Linked DNA regions of Homo sapiens: region 2 is linked to region 1. Evidence: promoter capture Hi-C in human tissues and cell types (Jung and others, 2019). All regions are on one chromosome and are shown on one strand. Each heading gives the region's core, a stretch centred on a gene start or on the middle of the fragment in contact. The rest is flanking DNA. Distances are from core to core; before and after follow the strand shown.

Region 1 (7,651 bases), core at 3,387-5,886:
TAAATTTAGCAAATATGGAAGGTGGAGGGAAGAGGGGAGATGAAACTGGACAAGGAGGTAAGCAGAGACTGATTGGTTCATGGAGCATGCTAAACTTGTTAAGGAGTTTGGACTTTATTCTTAGTGCAATGTAAAGTCATTTTATAATTTTTTTAATTAATCATGCAATCCGATTTACATTTTTAGAAAGATCATACTAATTACACTGCGGAAACTGGATAATCGGTAACTGAACACTGTGACACCAGTTGGGAGATGAGTGGTGATGGCCTGGTCTAGAGTCTTGACTATGAGGATGGGGTACAGTGAAAAGATAAGAGAAACATTTAGGTTTTGTGCTAAAAAACATTTAGGCTTGGAGGAGGGGGTGTGTGGAGATGAGAGAGATGTGTCACTTGGCCTGGTCCTGTGTAATTTGACCAATTCTGGATACATCTGACCCAAATAAATATATTCAAAAAACTATTATATATACCCTTCTGGTGCTTTAGAGAAGCCAGATTGGAATCAGAATTGTAAGTAATCAGGATTTTTTGTTAATGGGAATTAATCAAAAGGAGAATTGAAACAAAAGAAAGAATGTGCATAGTATGAAGAGAGCTTATGGCAGGAACTCCAACATTTGAGTAGGAGGTGGGTCAAGGAAGTGGACCTAAAGAATGACCAAGATGTGACTGAAGAGTCCTAAGAAAAAAAAAAAAACAGGGTGGTTTTTAGTAACTATAGCTTATTAGTGTATTTCCAGAAGAATGGAGTGGTAAATACTGTTACATGGCACAAAGAGGTTAAGCTACGAGAATTGAAAATGTCAGCTGGGCGTGGTGCTCACACCTATAATCCCAGCACTTTGGGAGGCCAAAGTGGGAGTATCACCTGAGCTCGGGAGTTCGAGACCAGCCTGGCCAACATGGTGAAATCCCATCTCCACTAAAAATACCAACAAATTAGCTGGGTGTGGTGGTGGGTGCCTGTAATCCCGGCTGCTCTGGAGGCTGAGGCAGGAGAATCGCTTGAACCCGGGAGGTGGAGGCTGCAGTGAGCCGAGATGGCGCCACTGCACTCTAGCCTGGATGACAGAGCGAGACTCCATCTCAACAACAACAAAAAAGAATTGAAAATGTCTGTTGATTTAAGAGTGTTTTTTAAACTTTCTTTTCCTTAATGCCTGCTAAGGAGCCCTTTTAGACTCCATCTTCTCACCACCCTGCCAATCAAATTCCTCACCCATAAAACTTTTTATTATTCTTTCTTTTTCAACTGTAAATTGACAAATTATAGTTGTATATATTTAGGGGTACCAGATGTTATGATTTATGAAATGTGGAATAATTAAATGAAGCTAATTAATATCACCATAAAATTTTAATACCACAGAATATTCTCTGTTTATGTATTGTATTTGTGCTTTACACATAAAAAGAGTATTATATTTTTTTCACCTCACAAGAAGCAGTTTTTATCTGCTTTGAGAATGCATGATTTAACACACAGAGGACACTGGTGATCTTGGTAAAGGTAGTTTTGGTGGGCTGGGTGCGGTGGCTCACACCTGTAATCCCAGCACTTTGGGAGGCTGAGGCGGGCAGATCACGAGGTCAGGAGTTCGAGACCAGCCTGGCCAACATGGCGAAACCCTGTCTCTACTAAAAATACAAAAGTTAGCTGGGCATGGTGGTAGGCGCCTGTAATCCCAGCTACTCGGGAGGCTGAGGCGGAAGAATCACTTGAACTCTGGAGGCGGAGGTTGCAGTGAGCCGAGATTGCCATTGCACTCCAGCCTGGGCGACAAGAGCAAGACTCCATCTCAGAAAAAAAAAATAGTTTTGGTGGTAGTTCAGTGGAATGCTAGAAATAAGACATTGCAGTGGGCTGGGAAATAAATAGCAAGAAGTGTAAAAAAATAGAGATATGTAGAGTAGATTCAAGAAGTCTAGCTGTGAAGAGGATGAAAAGACAGGAAAATAAATGCAGCAGTTCATAAAGTGAAGGAAGAATACATTCAAATGCTGAAGGAAAGGTGTGAATAGAGGGGGAAAAGCTGACATAGGAGAGAGGGAAAAACGGAAAGAGGACCCTGACATAGCAGGAGAGGATGCTACTGAGAGACTAGGTCAAAGGGTTTGCCTTCTCTAAGGAGAAGGAACACTTTCTACTCTTCAGATTGAAGGGAAGGTTTGTATACTTGACTGCAGGCAGATGATGGCTCTCCTTCTCTGTGTAATGGGAGAGAGGTCATTTCCAAAGGGAGAGAGAAGTCCTCTTCTCTGTAAATACCATGTGCTACTCATGAATTGACACAGTACTGAGCTACTTAAAAATATTTAAATCTGCAAAGAACTCCCATAGCGTATGTGTATATGTATTTTTTTTTAAGAGATAGGGTCTTGTTTTGTTGCCCAGGCTGAAGTGCAGTGGACCAATCATAGCTCACTGTAACTTTGAACTCCTGGGCTCAAGTGATCCTTCTGCCTCATTCTGCCTCTACCTCCTGAGTAGCTAGGACTACAACCACATGCCACAAAGCCTGGCTAATGTTTAAATTTTTTGTAGAGATGGAGTCTCGCTATGTTGCCCAGGCTGATTTCCAGCTCCTGGCCTCAAGTGATTTTCCCGCCTCACCCACCCAAAGTGCTAGGATTACAGGCGTGAGCCACCGCACTCCATCTGCCCATAGTATATTGGTTTGTTTTTTTTTTTTTTGAGACGGAGTCTTACTCTATTGCCAGGCTGGAGTGCAGTGGCGCAATCTCAGCTTACCACAACCTCCGCTTCCTGGGTTCAAGCGATTCTCCTGCCTCAACCTCCCGAGTAGCTGGGACTACAGGCACGTGCCACCACGCCCAGATAATTTTTATATTTTTAGTAGTGACGGGGTTTCTCCATATTTGCCAGGATGGTCTCGATCTCTTGACCTCGTGATCCACCCACCTCAGCCTCTCAAAGTGCTGGGATTACAGGCATGAGCCCTACCGTGCCTGGCCGTATATTATATTAAATGGTTAGAAATAAAAATCATAAGATTAAGTAAGAAAATATAATCTTGTTGCAAAGAGAGCTTTCCTAAAGATACGTAAGGTTTTTTTTTTTTTTTTTTTTTTTTTTTTTTTTTTTTTTTCGAGGCAGAGTCTCGCTCTGTCGCTCAGGGTGGAGTGCAGTGGTGAGGTCTCAGCTTACTGCAACTTCCGCCTCCCGGGTTCAAGGGATTCTCCTGCCTCAGCCTACCAAGTAGCTGGGACTACAGGCGTGTGCCACCACACCTGGCTAATTTTTGTATTTTTAGTAGAGACAGGGTTTCACTATGTTGGCCAGGTTGGTCTCGAACTCCTGACTTTGTGATCCGCCCGCTTCAGCCTGCCAAAGTGCTGAGATTACAGGCGTGAGCCACCGCGCCTGGCCAAGATTCGTAAATTAAGATAATTCTTCATTAACCTCATTCACTTCACTTCTCCTATAGTGTCAATTGAAAGTGTCCCTCTGTCTTTCCCAAATTAATCCTTTCACTTGTAACTTGATCCCATTCCTTTCCTTCTCTTCTGGGAGACAAGACTTTTTCTTGAATCTTCAAATAGTTGCTTGCTTCCTGCCCCCAAATAGATATCTTGTATTCTTTAAAACAAACCCCAAACTTTCCCCCACCTTGCCACTCTCAATAATCTTGCTTCATGCCCCAAATGATGAAGGATTGGTCTACACTTGCAGTCTTTCCTCAGTTACTATTAAAGCATCTCTCTCAAACAGCTCAATGACTTTCTAATTATAAAATCCAACGACCTATTCTGATTTCAGCTTCCTCCTCTGACCATTGCAGCATTTTATGTCATTGATAACTTTCTCCTAAACAAAAATACTTCTTACCCTTTTATATGAAACTTCATCTGTTTTGGGTCTCACCTTGAAAGTCTTTCGGGCTTAATTCTCATAATTTTTTTTAAAGTCTTTCTACAATCTCCATGTAAACCACTGTTTCAAATTCGATAAAACTCAAACTCCATAAAATACCTCCTCCTGTCACTGGCACCATCTTCTTAATCACACATAAGGCTGTAAGTTTCAGGTTCAAACAAATCTACCAAATACAAACAGCCACATCGCCCGTCACTCTTCCACACTCACTGCCACCTGCTCAGCTTAGAACCCCGTTACCTCTCTCCTGAAGAACTGCAACACCCTTCTCACTGCATTCCTCACCCCAGGCTCTTCCAGGCACCACCCGCTAACAGGACGTCTGCTCAGGTCCGTTTGGGGTTTTGTCCTCCAAAGCAGAAACCTGGGACTGAGATTCCTGCCGTCTGTACTCCAGCTCACTATAGAGGGGGAACCCAGTAAGCTTGACCTCCGGGGCTCAGGCGCCTGAGAACACTGGGCTGCAGGTGGACCGCTCCCTTCTGGCCTTGCTGGCGAGAAAGCCCGGAAGGCCGGGAGTGGGGGGGAAGCGAGGCCCGGGCCAACAGCACCAAAGACGCTCCTAGAGCCCAGATCGGAGTCGGGGGCCCCAGCTATTCAGCCTACTCCCGGGTTTTGGAGCTGTCCCCAGTCCACAGATTTCCCGCCCCTCACACTCACCCCAACACCTGTGCCAGTCAGTGATTCGGCGCCGGATCCTCTCCTACCGAAGCTGGAGAAGCCGAGAAGGCCGCGAGGACCCGCAGCTGGAGTGCCCAGGAAATTGCCTGATTAACAGCTTCAAAGACACCGACTCTGTCTACCGTATTAGAAATTTTAAATATGCAGGAAGACCGTAAATGAGAGGAAAGACGTCTCTTGAGGCTTAGTATCTAAATCTTCTACATAATCCAGGGCCTAGAAAAATGGTGGGTTTCTCTCCATCTAGATTCAGGCGGTCATCTGCTGCCTAACGCAGTCTGGGGTCCCTCATGGTAGGGGAGGCGGGGTCAGGAATGGGCGGGGCATTCGCTGTTGGTGCCGACGGATAGAGCCAATGATTGTGGATGACAGCGGCACAGAATGGGCGGAGTCTGGAGGGGCGGGATTTGGAGAAGAGAAAGCGGTGATGCGAAGAGGGGGCGGGACCAGAGAGTGGATGGCAGAGGTGGGCTGTAGAGCCAAAGTGGGGTGGGAGCGCGAAGATGGCAGCTGCTGAGGAGGAGCCGAAGCCCAAAAAGCTGAAGGTGGAGGCGCCGCAAGCGCTGAGGTGAGCGCTGCCGGACTTGGGGAGGAGGGTGACGGCGCTGCAAGCAAGCCAGGGCCCACGTGGGGTTGCACGGCCCCGACGCTGGGTGGTGTCTCTCACTGCCAGCTTGGGGCCAACACGCAGGACCTCCCCCAGCTGCCCGCTTGGCCGCGACCCCTTGCCAGACGTTCTCTCCGTTTGGCTGAGTCCCCGCCTGTCTGGTGCAGCTCCGGCTCCAGCAGCCCTTCGCCAGTCGTGGCCCGCAGGGGGACCGAGCTGGCTGACCGCGCCACCTGCGAGCAAGCCCAGGCTGGGCTGGTGCGACCCCGGAGGGTCGGACCGGAGCAGCGTCTGTAGGCGGCCGCCTTCTCTTCCCGGGGGATGGCGGGAAAGAGGCTCGGCAACTGCTGTACACTGGGGCAAAGTCAGAATTCTTGGGGATTTTTCAGAGTGTTGCGGAAGGGCACGTTGACCTTCCTTTTCGTGCACATTCTGAAAGCCCGTACCTTTGAGGACCCTCTACCAGGGACCCAGACCCCTCCGATGCTTTGCAGGGGCAGCATTTGGATGAATGGATAGGAAAGGTTGATTTCTCTTTTTTATTTACACTTTTTGGCAGCAACGGGGACAGTGCTGCCCCTAACACCTGCCTCACATGTGATTGATGTTGCAACTTTTACTTATGAAGAGTCATTTGTTAAAATATCCCTTCCTAATAAGTATAAAGTGAAGCAGGCAGTCTTTGATGATTTGGAAATGTTCGCTGAAAGGCAGCGATTTTTTTTTCCATCTTAAAATAGACATATCAAACTGATTTAAAACTATTAGGACACTCCTGATTAAACAGGACATATCCCATTTCTTCCAGTATCACTCTTCTTCACCTCCAAAGGAAGGAATCACTCACAATTGAAAAGAAAAGGACACTTAGGGGCCTGGTGGTGTGTTCATGCTGCTTTGAATGGAGGGTGAACAAATCCTTGCCAGTTCCTTTAATGTATTCCTACTACCCTCAAAGGGTTAGTGTGCCTACCTTATACCAAGAACATAAACTTTAAAATAAAAACCCTCAGGATATTCTATTTTTATTTTAAATATTCCAACTATATGCAGAATAAAAAGCAACGGCTTTTGAATCAGACCTACCTGAGTTCAAGGCATGTGCTTTCCCTACTCTGCCCTTTATTAGAGTATTTCCTTATAAGGCACCTCCTTCGCCAAACTGGAAGACAGATGCAACTTTTCCCTACCATCCTACTGAACATATAACCCTTAGATTTCCTTAGATTTTTCCTTAATAAAAATTATTATATATAATGCTGATCCATTTTCACTGTGTTTTCCTATTTATTATCTTGTTGGACAGTTCTGTGATCAAAGGAAGGCAAGAATTATGCCTATTTTACAATTGAAGATATTGAAGCCCAAATAAAACAATTAGTACAGGAACAGAAATAGGAACTAGCTGAGCATGTTTTCTTATACCTGCAGTCCTGGTGCTTTGTGAGGCTGTGGTGAGAGCATTCCTTAGGCAACTAAAATTCACTTTATACAATATGAATTTAGTGCCACCTGTAGACATGAAGTTAAAAGATTAGACACTTGAGTACTGGGACAAATCTCTAATTTTGTGGGGAGACATTTTAGGATCGGCTATTATTACTTTTATTATATTAATTTGCTTTCAGACTCAAAGTGTGATAATGCATTGAGTATTTACACTGAATTTATGATGACTTGCTTGACAGGGGATTGCTACTGGTTTTGGTTAAGGAGAATGGATTATAAAGACTTTGCATAATTTAATGTGCAGCATCAGTGGGAACAAATAATGAGATATATTTGTAGATGTCAGGAAAAATATTTAGATTTAGGGATTTGTGAGAATTTGGTCAGCTCTGGGATAATAATTCTCCACCAGGGGAAATTTTGCCCTCCAGGGGACATTTGGCGTGGTCTAGAAAGATATTTTTGGTAGGGAGAGCTATTGGCACCTAGTGGATGGAATTCAGGGGTGCTGCTAAACATGCTACATAGGACAACCCCCACAACAAAGAATTATCTGGCCAAATACGTCAACGGTGTTGAGGTTGAGAAATCTGTTCTAGAGGGAGCATCTGACAAGACTAGTCTGCCTTTCTCAAATATCTATTATTTTTCTAGGCTCGGTTGCTTTTCAGCATATAACAGTTGCTTATAAAGAAAGAATCAGGCTCTGACATGTTTTCACGTGGGATTAGGGGAAAGAAGGGAACGTTAATTGAGTGCTAGACATTATACTATGTGCTCTATATATGTTATCTCTTTTAACCCTCCCAGTGACCTATGAGGTAGGAGCAATGATTCCTGTGTTACAGACGAGCTATTTTGTGATGAAAGAAGTGGAGAAACATTTTTGGGAACTGCTCCCTAGATGAAGGTGTTCCATGATGATCACTTATATTTAAGACAACTTAGTTTTCTTTTCTCTCCTTTGGAAATCTCATCCAAGTTCATTTCTTTAGCGATCGCCTCTTAAGA
Region 2 (7,651 bases), core at 2,300-4,799, 730 kb after region 1:
GCAGGAGAATCACTTGAACCCGGGAGGTGGAGGTTGCAGTGAGCCAAGATGGTGCCGCTGCACTCCAGTCTGGGTGACAGAGCAAGACTCCATCTCAAAAAAAAAAAAAAAAAAAAGACATTTGTTTTGGCTGGGGAAGGCTTTGCAGAGGGAGGTAACTTCTAGATTGAGATTTGAAGTCAGAGTCCATCCAGAAAGTAGGGAAGACATTTTATGTAGAGAAGTAACAAGCTACAGGGATCAGAGGTATGAACCAGGGTGCATGTTTGGGTTATGGTGAGTGGTGTCTGGCCAAACTGTGTGGCTCAGGGTCTTTCTGCTTCACCATCTTTAGCATAGAAGCCTTCCTTGTGCTCACTTGCTCATCTCATTCTCACAAAATAGCTGCTTCATATCTAGGCACCATCTCTCTATTCCCACAGGGGAAAGAGGGAAAGTGCCAAGGGTAACAGCGGAAACGTCTTCCTTTTTATTCAGGAAATGAGGGACTCCCCAAGGCTTCTGCTTATATTTCATTGGCTTGAGCTGAGCCGTACAACCATCACTAGTGGCAGGTAGTCTGGGATGTCAAGAAAGTAGCTTCCCAGTCTCTTTGGTTAGAAGGCAAAGGAGAAGATGGTGGGAATCGGTTTGCATCAGTCACTCTACACATTATCTGCTTTGTTAGGGCAGCATTATCTTAGTATTGTTACCAAGTTCAGGGTCTTTTCTGGGGTGATCAAGCATCCTGGGTCGCCTGGGACCAAGTGGTTTTCTGGGTTGTAGGACTTTGAGTGCTATAGCCTGGAAAGCCCTAGGAAAACCAGGATGGTTGGCCATCCTAGTCTTTCCCCATATCCTCTGTTGTCCAAAAATATGGAAGCAGGTCATTTCTTGACATAGGAGCTGCCTTGACTGGGCTTAAAAAGGCCTGAAAGGCAGCTTAATAATTTACAATGAGAAATAAATGATATTGGATCAGGGGAGGATACTGGAAGAAGAGCTCCATGGGATTTGCTTGGTGCTCGTGAGATTTTGACTGACAAGAGATCTTAGGGCTACTATATTACCCAAATTCAGGGGACTCTGTTCACTTTGCCAGCAGCCTGGGATTAATTCTGTAGTGCTAATGCCATTCTGAGAAGCCTTTCAATGAATCTGAGCTCAGGGTTCTTAGTCCCCCTGTTACTGAAGCTTCTCCCCAGACAGTGTCGTTTTTGTTTTTTCCTTCCTTTCTAAGCTTCTGGTGCTGACTAGTCTCCCCTTCTAATGGACAGTGTTTAGATACGTTATTGTCTAAAGGTAGATCTGGCCAGGCATGGTGGCTCACACCTGTAATCCCAGCACTTTGGGAGGCCAAAGCTGGCAGATCACCTGAGGTCAGGAGTTTGAGACCAGCCTGGCCAACACGGTGAAACCCCGTCTCTACTAAAAATACAAAAATTAGCTGGACATGGTGACAGGCACCTATAGCTGAGATCCATTGTGAGTGCCATTGCACTCTAGCCTGGGCGACAGAGTGAGACTCCATCTCAAAAAATAATAATAAAAATAAAGGTAGATTAAAAAAAAAGAGACATAATTTGCGTTATCGTAAAATTTACTTTTTTAAAGTGTGTAATTCAGTGGTTTTTAGTATGTTCACAAAGTCATTCACCACTGTCTAATTCCAGAACATTTTTCTTACCCCAAAATGAAATCCTATACCCATTAGCATCACTGCCCATTTCCTGCTTCCTTTAGACTGTGGCAACCACTCATCTATTTTCTGTCTCTATAACTTTGCGTATTTTAGACATGTCATATAAATGGAATCCTATGGTATGTGGCCTTTTTTAAAAATCACTGGCTTCTTTCACTGAGCATAATTTTTCAAGTTCTTTTAAGCTGTAGTATGTATCAGTACTTCATTCTTTATAACTGCCAAATAATAGTTCTTTGTATGGATATACCACATTTTATTTCATTCATTCATTAGACATTGATGGTTCTACTTTCTGGCTATTATGAGTAGTAGTACTATGAACATTTGTGTACATATTTTTGTGTGGACACGTTTTTACTTCTCTTGGCTGTATACCTAGCAGTGGAATTGCTGGTCTTCAGGTGTGTCTTACTGATGTTTTTTTTTGAGATGGAGTTTTGGTCTGTCGCCTGGGCTGAAGTGCAGTGGCGCAATCTCGGCTCACTGCAACCTCCACCTCCCAGGCTCAAGCAATTCTCCTGCCTCAGCCTCCCAAGTAACTGGGATTACAGGCGCACGCCACCATGCCCAGCTAATTGTTGTATTTTTAGTAGAGACGGGGTTTCACCATGTTGGCCAGGCTGGTCTCGAACTCCTGGGCTCAAGCAATCCTCCTGCCTTGGCCTCCCAAAGTGTTGGGATTACAGGCGTGAGCCACTGTTCCTGGCCTTATCTTACTCTCTCTTTTTTTTTTTGAGACGGACTCTCACTCTGTCTTCCATGCTGGAGTGCAGTGGTGCAGTCTTGGCTCACTGCAACCTCCACCTCCCAGGTTCAAGCCATTATCCTACCTCAGCCTCTGGAGTAGCTGGGACTACAGGTGCAGCTAATTTTTGTCATTTTAGTAGAGATGGGGTTTCACCATATTGGTCAGGCTGGTCTCCATCTCCTGACCTCAGGGGATCCGCCTGCCTCGGCCTCCCAAAGTGCTGGGATTATAGGTGTGAGCCACTGTGCCCAACCATCTTTAAGCCTCCTTAAGGAGGCTGTGTCTCTAACATGCCCTGTTGGTTTTATAGTTGGACTCTCACTGGACAGCCTCGTTTTTCTAAGATTTGGGGGTTATAAGGATCAGAGTTGTCCCCAGTTGGCTCCTTTCACCTCGTCCATAAGGTTGTTGTGAGGCTTCACTGAGGTAATCTGTATAAAGTAAGGTGCTGGCCTGTACCCTGTACATCACTCAGTAGTGGTGATTTCACTGCCCTTTGCCTCCTGCCTTTGGCTTCTGGCTATCTCCAAACACCCCATGCCTTCTGTGCTCCACCCTCTGTTGAAACACAGGAATCTAAAACCATTCATTGATACTTTTTGAGTGATTATACTGAAAACAATTGCATGTTGTCTCATGCAGAATTTTCGTGTTAAACCCTGTGTTGCAAGGATGCCATTAACCAGCACACAGATGGCGGTGGAGATTGATTGATTGAGATGGGGTTTCGCTGTGTTGCCCAGGCTGGAGTGCAGTGGTGTAATCGTAGTTCACTGTAACTTTGAACTCCTGGACTCCAGTGATCCTCCTGTGTCAGTTTTCCAAGTAACTGGGACTACAGTCTCATGTCACTGTGCCTGGCTAATTTTTAAAATTATTTTATAGAGCTGGGGTCTCGCTATGTTGCCTAGGCTCTTCTCAAACTCCTGGCCTCAAAGCGATCCTCCTGCCTCAGCCTCCCAAAGTGTTGGGATTACCAGCGTGAACCACCACACTTGGCTGGGGATGGAGTTTTAGACACCAGAGGCTTCCTTCCGAGGTTGACCTAGAAAGCACCCTTGGTGGGTGCCATGGGATGGGGGAATACAGTCAAAAGGAACCTGCTCTTCCCGCTGCGCCTCCACCTGAGGTGGATGTGTCTGCTGGGGCTGCTGGAGTCTCCATCTTCCACTTTAACTTCACTTAAGAGCTGAAAGCTCTGCCCCTTCTTCAAGATTTTCCCTGCTGTCTCCCCTTCCCTGCTCAACCAGAGATTCCTCTTATTCTTCCTCTTGCTATTAGTATTAATCTGGCTCACTGACTCTTTTCCTTAACCTCATCCTAAAACTGTCTGATGCATATTTTATATTTTCTTGCATGTTTGACTTTTAGTTAGTATTTTACAGTAATTTCGTTCTGCAGCCATCCTCTTATCTGATACCCTGGAACTCATTCCTGTGCCTATCAGTTCTCACCTCTGGTAATTAAACTTTGTAAAAAAGAAATGTGACATTTGGACATATTCTCTTATTAGTAAAGGTATTATTGTGTATGAGACTAATGCTGTGCATCTATAATAAGTTGTTTCACCTTGTGAATACTAATGTAATTTGGAAATAAACCTTTCTTTGTTAAAGACTTTTTCTACATGGGCCACGTTTTTCCAGACCTATTTCCTAATAATTTGTGGTTTTTAAAGGTATGTCAATAGAGATGCTGTAGCCAGCATGGCTGGATTCTGTTAGATAAACATTTTGTGAGATTGCTTACCTTAAACAATTGTCTTTAAAAGTTAATTTCTTCCCTAATGTGTCAGTAAGGAAATTCTATAGTATTTAAGAAGCCTGATAAAGTCCAGTTAAAACATTTTGCATTGCTCTTTAAACATCTTTTCTGAGGGTTGATGTGTTCGTGTTTGTTTGGTTCACATAGTTTCTTCTGAATTTTAAGAAAGCTTTGTCAGAATCAGTAACTTGCCTATAGTGTATTTTTCATGACCATATGGCTTTCTTCATCAAAAACAGCTAAGTAAAAATTTCAGTGAATAATAGTATATATATATGGGAATGTATTCCTCATCATTTGTATGCTCTTGAGAGAGTGACTCATGTACTGTTTTCTATTGAGTTCCCGAAAGTTTATAAAGAGATGACAAACAATTGGCTATGGGATTGAAATAATGCACATGTAAAATGGAAGGGAAAACATGGAAACAGTTTCTTCCTTTGTTCTTCCCTTACCTTGATGAAATTTTTACCACTTAACGTTTTTCAGTAAAGTCAAGGTCAGTATCAGAGCCTAGTACGGTTCTGCTTGCCGCTGTCTGAGGATTACCTGTCTTATTACAGAATGTACATGCTCCCAGAGGAGAAGATACAGTTTGATTTCAGGATGACAAACAGCTCTTCTGGGACAATAGTGTCAAGTATAAAAGGATTATAAAGGTTTTAGGACCATGGGATGGTTTGAAGGGGAAAGGGTGAAATGACAGTTAAGGTTGGCATCACCGAGGTCCCAGTTGTTGGCTGCCCCCTACTTCTCCTGTTCCCCTCTGGCAGTATTTTACAGATGTATTTCCTTTGACCTTTCCTTTAGTAGGAAGTTGTAGGCTTTAAGATCCAGCAGAAAAAAATTATGAGCCATTTGTGACCCTCTTGAGCAGTCCTTCAGGTAGAACACATTTCATAAGAGCTAGTGAATGGTCTTGGGTAATTAAAGCTCACTTTATGATTATACAGTGTGGTGGCCAGCCCAGAGGGAACATCACAAATACACATTATGAATGTATAGAATTGAGACTTTATACCTGGAGACTGTTGGATGACCTGGTCCTCTGCCCCCAGGCCTACCCTTCTGCCCATCCTCATCCAATTCTGTTTTGATTTTTAAAAAGTATGTGCTTCTTAGCCCTCTCATTGCTTCACTGTGAGGGGAAAAACTTTTCTATTGAGGTGCTGAAGCTGTGCTTTCCAGGACTCATACTTATGTGCTGTTGAATGAGTCTCAGTGCTCCTAGGAGTCTATAAAAGGAATAGAAGACTTCTTTTCTCTAACTCCCTTATGGTTTGTATTTTATCTGCTAAGAGACACTGGCATTTCATGGAGATGGGAGAGAAAAAGACACAGCCTACTTAGACAGTTCCTTTATTCCAACATATATACTCACTTCACATATTCATAGACACCTTCCACCTAGCATCAAATTCTGAACTCATAGAAGACTTAGGTGTTTTTGGTTTTGTATGCATAGCTTTTGAAATCCCTGGGTTGAAAATTTTCTAGGTGTTGTTTGTATGCTCTAGTCAAGCCCAGGACATAAAGGGTTATGTTAAAATTACTTTCCTTAGTGACTATTAACCAGAAATTTTATCTGTCAGGAGAAAGGATTCATGCAACTCTAAGAATGCATTGCCCTCTGCATAGGCTATTAGCTTTGGCAACCGAAGATAGATGAGACTTAGGCTGTGTTTAAATTTTTCATTGTGATGAGACAAATCTATTATTATAAAAGCCCTACTTTATCAGTGAGAGTGTTTCCTTATGTTGTTTTAATTAAAGGAGCAGTGTGTTTTTAAATTTAATTATGGTACCTTGAAGATCTGATACTAGCTGTAAGCTAAGGATTCTTTGGGTTTTCAAGATTTTTTTTTTGGAGACGGAGTTTCACTCTGTTGCCCAGGCTGGAGTGCAGTGGCGTGATCTGGGCTCACTGCAACACCTGCTTCCTGGTTTCAAGTGATTCTTCTGCCTCAGCCTCCCAGGTAGCTGGGATTACAGGTGCGGGCCACCATGCCCGGCTGATTTTTTGTATTTTTAGTAGAGACAGGTTTCACCATGTTGGTCAGGCTGGTCTCGAATTCCTGACCTCAAATGATCTGCCATCTTCAGCCTCCCAAAATGCTGGGATTACAGGCGTGAGCTACAGTGCCCAGCCAGTTTTCAAGATTTTTAATGCATTTGGAGCAGCGCTATCCTAAAGAACCTTCTTTGATGATGGAAATTTTCTCTATCTGCACCATCCAATATGGTCTGGTAACCACCAGCCACATGTGGCTATTGAGCACTTAAAATGTGGCTGAGACTGAGAAACTAAAATTTTAATTTTCTTGAAAATGTAAATTAATTAATTAATTAATTTATTTATTTATTTAGAGACAAGGTCTTGCTCTGTTACCCAGGCCGGAGTGCAGTGGTGCAATCATAGTTCACTGCAGCCTCGACCTCCTGGGCTCAAGTGATTCTCCTGCCTTAGCCTTCTGAGTAGCTGGGATTACAGGCATGTACCACCATACCTGGCTAATTAAAAAAAAAAAATTTTGTAGATATGGGGTCTCTCTATGTTGCCCAAGCTGGTCTGGACTCCAGGCCTCAGCCTCCCAAAGGAGAAAATGTAAATTTATATAGTCGCATGTGATTAGTGGTTATTGTGTTGGACAGCACAGATTTAGAATCTGAGGAAACTCTCCATTTAGTATAATGCCATCTGAAGCTCTTAACCAGTTGAGGCTGGTTAAATCTGAAGTTGATATTGGATAATATTGCTATTAGGCCAATGAGAGATTTCTTTAATAAAGATGCAAGTTTATCAAACTTAAATATGCTAGATATGAACTTTGGGAAGGCAAAAATTAATTCCAGAAATAATTCCAATATAATTAATTGAACAAATATTTAGAAAATGTTATCTAGGATAAAGAAGTGTAGTAAATATTGTGGAGGACTCAGAGGTGAGTGGGACTTAGGTGAGGCTGCCTATTTTGAGTCCTGCTGGGGAGGCCTTGAAAGGTCAAGGAGAAGTTCTTTTTTTTTTTTTTTTGAGATGGAGTCTTGCTCTGTCACCAGGCTGGAGTGCAGTGGCACGATCTCAGCTCACTGCAACCTCTGCCTCCCAGGTTCAAGCGATTCTACTGCCTCAGCCTCCCGAGTAGCTGGGACTACAGGTGCACGCCACCACATCCAGCTAATTTTTTGTATTTTTAGTGGAGACAGGGTTTCACCATGTTGGCCAGGATGGTCTTGATCTCTTGACCTTGTGATCCTCCCACCTTGGCCTCCCAATGTCCTGGGATTACAGGTGTGAGCCACTGCGCCCGGCCAGGGGAAGCTCTTTCTAAGGGAGTAGCTTAGAGCACAGAATGCCAACTGGGTTATCATCAGGCTGTAAACAGTAGGATTTCAGTTTGTGCAAGCACGATGGTTGGGGCTGTAACAGGAGAAGGGGGAGCTGTTTACATCAGGGG

The links. Contacts are between HindIII fragments. The study calls those that stand out against the background at their distance.
Region 2: a contact is called between a fragment that was not itself captured here and the fragment with the promoter of AP3M1 in region 1, in 1 of the 25 tissues and cell types used here (psoas muscle).

The regions. Positions count from the first base shown.
Region 1 is chr10:74,146,192-74,153,842 of GRCh38, forward strand. It overlaps AP3M1 (adaptor related protein complex 3 subunit mu 1), which reads right to left and starts at 4,637. Exons shown (of 9, transcript NM_012095.6): 1 at 4,564-4,637. ADK (adenosine kinase) reads left to right here and starts at 5,030. Exons shown (of 11, transcript NM_006721.4): 1 at 5,030-5,152. The coding sequence starts at 5,088. RefSeq lists enhancers at 4,561-4,790, 5,201-5,380. The HindIII fragment of the contact is 9,762 bases long and covers 695-7,651 here.
Region 2 is chr10:74,878,524-74,886,174 of GRCh38, forward strand. The region is part of intron 3 of KAT6B (lysine acetyltransferase 6B); the gene reads left to right. Among named protein-coding and RNA genes, the nearest start is that of KAT6B, 56 kb to the left of the region's middle. The HindIII fragment of the contact is 7,129 bases long and covers 1-7,114 here.